Regions from separate parts of the Homo sapiens genome. Here region 2 is linked to region 1. The links are contacts of gene promoters, found by promoter capture Hi-C in blood cells and fetal thymus (Javierre and others, 2016). All regions are on one chromosome and are shown on one strand. Each heading gives the region's core, a stretch centred on a gene start or on the middle of the fragment in contact. The rest is flanking DNA. Distances are from core to core; before and after follow the strand shown.

The links. The method cuts DNA at HindIII sites, captures the fragments that hold promoters and counts their contacts. A CHiCAGO score of 5 or more calls a contact.
Region 2: a contact is called between a fragment that was not itself captured here and the fragment with the promoter of CLSTN1 in region 1, in 2 of 17 cell types (non-activated CD4 T cells and activated CD4 T cells). The highest score is 5.8, in non-activated CD4 T cells.

What each region holds. Positions count from the first base shown.
Region 1 is chr1:9,822,520-9,825,331 of GRCh38, forward strand. CLSTN1 (calsyntenin 1) reads right to left here and starts at 1,446. Exons shown (of 19, transcript NM_001009566.3): 1 at 1,124-1,446. The coding sequence starts at 1,214. RefSeq lists silencers at 1,168-1,247, 1,258-1,407, 1,578-1,627, 1,648-1,707 and an enhancer at 1,320-2,036. The HindIII fragment of the contact is 4,716 bases long and covers 163-2,812 here.
Region 2 is chr1:9,579,280-9,581,979 of GRCh38, forward strand. It overlaps SLC25A33 (solute carrier family 25 member 33), which reads left to right. Exons shown (of 7, transcript NM_032315.3): 6 at 675-955. Among named protein-coding and RNA genes, the nearest start is that of TMEM201, 8.3 kb to the right of the region's middle. The HindIII fragment of the contact is 1,791 bases long and covers 368-2,158 here.

The sequences.
Region 1 (2,812 bases), core at 196-2,695:
TCCTCCCCAAAATTTCTTTTGATTAAAAAAAAATCAGAACAACAGATTTAAGCCTACAGTAGATTCTACAGACTACACCTAGATTACTCTGCTCTAAGGCCAAGGAAAATGTTTACGATTTCAAGATCCACTCAGAAGCAAATACTGTATCTGCAATGCGTAAGCTTTTCGTTGGCAAGACCAGTCAATAGCAGAGGCATGCAAGGTTTAAAAGGTTAAGTGGATGAAGGTTAAAAGCTAATAATAAATTAGCCAAGAAATACTACTTCCCACCGAGCCATAAAATAATTTCGGTCCTACAATCCTAAAAAACCAGAGAGGTTTCTCGTTTTTGTAGAGAACATCTAACCCTCCACGGTCTAAATGACCGTCAGAAAAACAGCACCAAGGCACCAGGGGTAGCAGAGACGGAGATTTCTAACACTGGGTGAGCCCGCGGTCGCAAATCTCATCGCGATTTCACCTTTGGGTGAAAAGGTGGGAGGGAAGCACTAAGTTTCAGCCTCGGCTCCACTGGAAACAGACAACGTCTGAAGGACTCTGGGAGGAGGCGGAAAGGGGCGAAGTCGTGGTGTCCGCGGTGCAGCAACACAGAATCGGGATCTTGGAAACGGGATGCGGAGGAGTGGGCTCTTATGTAAGCACACACCAAAACTGTGCGTGCACCCCCCGCCTGATGCACATCTGAGCACACGTACACAGAGCATCTCACCCAGGGGTGCAGCCCCAGCCTGCGTGCGCCGCTGAGCAGGGCGGACTGACCCTTCGGCCCGTCTGCACGTTCCCCCAAATCAGCGCAGCCACCACCATGGGCTGCAGTGGGGGCAGCCCAGGCTCAGGAGCCCCGCCCGGGACGGAGCCTGGCTTCCCCGGGACGCCTGCAGCGCGCGCCCACAGTCTCCTGCGCCCTGGCCCCGGCTCCGCGAGCCCGACCCCCAACCCGAACCCCACGCCCTGACCCGGCTCCCTGCGCTCGGACCCGACTCCCCGCATCCCGGCTCGAATCCCGGCATCCGGCCCTACTCCCGCACCCGGACCCGAATCCCCGCACCGGGACCCGAATCCTGCACCCGGACCCGAATCCCGCACCGACCCAGCGGCCCGGCCCAGCCCCGGGGCTTACCTCGCGCGGCCCAGACCCCGCCGCCGCACAGCAGCCCGGCCAGCAGCAGCCGGGCGGCCGGGGCCAGCGCGGGAGCGGGGCGGCGCAGCATCGCCAGCCCGGGGCGGGAGCGGCAGGGAGGCGCGCGGGACGCCGAGCGGAGCTCTCGGAGCTCTCGGGGCTCTAGGGGCCTGGGGCTAGCTGCTCCGCGGCGCGGGGAGCTCCGGGGGTCCAAGGAGGAGCCGCCGCCGCCGCCGCCGTGACGCTGGGCCGCGCGCTCAGGACGCGGCGCCCTCCCCGCCTCAGAGCAGCGTCTTGCTGAAGGCAGCGGCAGCAACTAAGATGGCGGCGGCGCTCTCTCTCGGGTCCGGCGAGGGTACCCGGCCGGGGGCGGGGTGGCGGCGGGAGGGGCGGGGATGGGGAGCGACGCGAGGCGCGCGCGCGGCGGACCCTGGGAGCGCGCGGGCCCGGGAGGGGCGGGGGAGAGGAGCGGAGGGAGCGCGCGCGGCGGACCCGGCAGCGGGCGCGCGCCTCCGAGCCCGTCGGCCCCGCCTGGAGCGCGCGCCCGCGGGGACGCGCCTGGGGTGGGTTCCGAGCGGCCGGGAGGGGCCCGGGGGACTGTATCCCTTTCCCTGGCCGCAGATGGAGAGCCTCAACTCCGCGTCCCTACGCGCGCTCCCGGGCTCCTAAGGCCGGGTGAGCGGTACCCGGGGACCCGCTCCTCCTTCTCCACCCCGAGGACTCATCCTTCCCACCCGCTCCGCCGAGGAGCGCAGACCCCGGCGGAGCAGTGCGGCCCAGGACCCTTGTCACTTCGGGCAGGTCGCGTCGCCCCCCAGAACCTCGGGGTCCTCGTCTCCCCAGTAGAGGTGTTGAGAGGGGTCACGAAAGGGGGTCCAGGAGACGAGGTCAGCGAAACGCGCCTGGTAAACAGTTAAGGGCCGCGCAGCACTACCCACACCGGCTCCCGCCCCGGGACCTGCCCCCGGGGAGTCTGTCCTGAATTCACTGAAGGAATCTATTTGTGACTTTCAAAAGGCGGCTGGTGTGCGCGCTCTTTCTCAGTGACATGGTGCGATGCTGGTTCTTAGAAATGCGGAGGTCCGAATGGATAGAGAGGACAGAGAAGCCCTCCCCCTCTACCGTGGATCCCTACAGGGATCTTGGGGTCCTCCCAATTTCCCAGCGTCCAGCGGCCCCCTCCTCCTCGCCTCTGGACCCCTGGCACCCCCCCGCAGTGGAGGAAAGGCCTGGAACAGCCGTGGATGGGCGTGTGTGCAGGCACTGTACCCTATGAGACACTACTGGCTCCATTTTGCAGATAAGGAAACTAAGTCAGAAAGGTGAAATGACTTCCCCCGTTGGGACAACTATTGTAAAAAGAATCAGCCCTCAAGGACAGGATGTTCGCATTAGGGGGACACCAACAGCAAAAAGTGGAACCCTAAAATGTTCATTTTTCGAGACCGCTGGAGGAGCTATCCATGAATGTCACTGCTCCAGGTGGGGGTGGAGGAGGCTGGCAGCACTGGAGGCTGGGTGGAGACTGGTTTGTGGGGCGCAGAGGACTTATTTAGGAGACTAGTGGGCAAAGAGCCCAAAAACGTAGACTGAGGTCAGATTGGGGGAATGGACTTGATCCTACAGTCAACAGGAAGACCTGGAACGGCTGGGAACAGCGGTGTGATGTGACCTGGGGAAGGCTTCAAA
Region 2 (2,700 bases), core at 13-2,512, 240 kb before region 1:
AGCCCCACAGATTGGGGGCTCAGTCCCCAGGACTGCCCACCCCCCGCCCACCCACTTACCCACACACCAGTTGTATGTCTGGGCCTCCAGAGCTTCTGAACGACCAGCTTCAAGTTGGGGTTCCCATGACCCTCTCTTTGGATTCTATTAATGTGCTGGAGTGGCTCACAGAACTCAGGGAAACACTTAATGTTTACTGGTTTGTTATAGAGGACATCGCAAGGATACAGAAGAAGAGACAGGTAGGGCCAGGTACAGAGTAAGGGGCGTGGAGCTTTCATACCCTCCCCGGGGGCCACCCTCCAGGAGCCTCCATGCGATCAGCTCTGGAAGCTCCCTGAACCCTGTCCTCTTGGGTTTTTCTGGAAGCTTCATGTCAGCAGCATTCCTTCTCCCAGAGATAGGAGGGGACTCTCATGGAGTAAGACCAACAAGGTAAGGACATTAGAGGATGGCCTTGGGGCAGGTGAAAGGAGATCAAGGGACTGTCAGAGGCTGCCCCTGCGGCCTCACACACCCCACATAACGAAAGACAAGGGCTATGAGAGTTAGGAGCCAGGAAACAAGTATCCTAACACCATAAGGAAGACCCGTACCTGTTCTCCTACTGTGTGATGTCTGTGTTCCACCATGATATGTCTCCTTAACAGCCTGTGTTGGTCTCTTTTATGCAGAGTGAGGGGCTCTAAGCAGATGAATACACTCCAGTGTGCTCGTTACGTTTACCAGACCGAAGGCATTCGTGGCTTCTATAGAGGATTAACTGCCTCGTATGCTGGAATTTCCGAAACTATAATCTGCTTTGCTATTTATGAAAGTTTAAAGAAGTATCTGAAAGAAGCTCCATTAGCCTCTTCTGCAAATGGGACTGAGAAAAATTCCACAAGTTTTTTTGGACTTATGGCAGCTGCTGCTCTTTCTAAGGGCTGTGCCTCCTGCATTGCTTATCCACACGGTATGTTTTGCTTTTGTTCTTCCAGAGCAGTAAAACAGCTGTCACGTTTGTTGTTTGTGGGTATATCTAGACTTCTGAGGCGCACATTGAGGCGCAGGATCCCTGCAGGTAAGGTCAGTGAGTATGAGGGAAACAGCTCTAACCGCATGGACAGAGGTCACGTGAGTGGTGGGAACTCGACCTTACTCAAATCCAGCTGATTATAGCCAAAACTTGTTGTGCAGAAACGCAGGTCCTGGGTTGCTGAACTTTTGCTGTTTTCAAGGAAGCTAAAAATCTGGATTGTATTTAATATTCCTTGAATCAAAATGATAATATGGGAGCCAAACTTACTCAGCCTCGGCGGGGCACGGTGGCTCACGCCTGTAATCCCAGCACTTTGGGAGGCTGAGGCGGGCGGATCATGAGGTCAAGGGATTGAGACCAGCCTGGCCAACATGGTGAAACCCCGTCTCTACTAAAAATACAAAAATTAGCTGGGCGTGGTGGCGCACGCCTGTAGTCCCAGCTACTTGGGAAGCTGAGGCAGGAGAATCGCTTGAACCCGGGAGGTGGAGGTTGCAGTGAGCCGAGATCAAGCCACTGCACTCCACCCTGGCAACAGAGCGAGACTCTGTCTCAAAAAAAAAAAAATAATAATAATAATAATAATAATAATAATCATTCAGCCTCTATTTCTAATGGAGCCTTAAGGCTACTTTGGGTAAGTTTATTTTTTTGAGTTATAGAATTCTTGACCTACTGGCCTACTTATTTTAAAAAATGCTTAGTTTATTGTGCCATGAAAAACAGGTTTTATTTTCATAAGCCTTCTGTACTGTCAGCTATGGCAAATGCATACAGTCAACTCAGTAACAGGTGCTGAGTCCCCTTTGTGTCCTGGAGCACTAAGCTGACCCCAGAGGACATCTGAGGAAAGAGGTCAGTGATGCCTCCCAGGGTCTGAGGTCTGTGTGAGGGCAGGAGTGACGAATGTCCAACTCTAGGTGTCTGGGAAGGAGGCCCAGGTGGGCAAAGGCTGGCAAAGGAGAGGGTGGCTTTTGAGCTGGGCAGAGTAGAAAACGTTTCCAGGAGGAGGAGGAAACTGAAAAATATAAGAAAAGAATTCGTTGAAGGTATTGCCATACTTCATACAAATTAGCATTTGCTTAATTGGGAGTAGAAAACCATGAATTATTTTAACATTAAGTCTCATTGAAACTAAGCTTTTTTTAACCCCTTAAAAGTTATTTTGCTGTAATCCCAGCACTTTGGGAGGCCAAGATGGGCACATCACCTGAGATTAGGAGTTCGAAACCAGGCTGGCCAACATGGCGAAACCCCGTCTCTACTAAAAATACAAAAATTAGCTGGGTGTGGTGGCAGGTGCCTGTAATCCCAGCTACTCAGGAGGCTGAGGCAGGAGAATCACTTGAACCCAGAAGGCAGAGGTTGCAGTGAGCCAAGATCGTACCGACTGCACTCCAGCCTGAGTAATAGAGTGAGACTCTGCCTCAAAAAAAAAAAAAAAAAAGTTATTTTGTACTTTCGTGTATGTGTAAGTGTCCATAGTTGACCAAATCCTAGAGTTGGAAAAGGTTCTAAAAAGAACTTAATTTTTCATTGTCTCTCTAGGTTATGTGACTTTCCTGTCCAAATACAGCTGAGGTGGGAAATAGACACAGTTGTAACCTTGACAATTTTATTTTATTTATTTATTTTTTGAGACAGAGTCTTGCTTGCTCCGTGGCCCAGGCTGGAGTGTA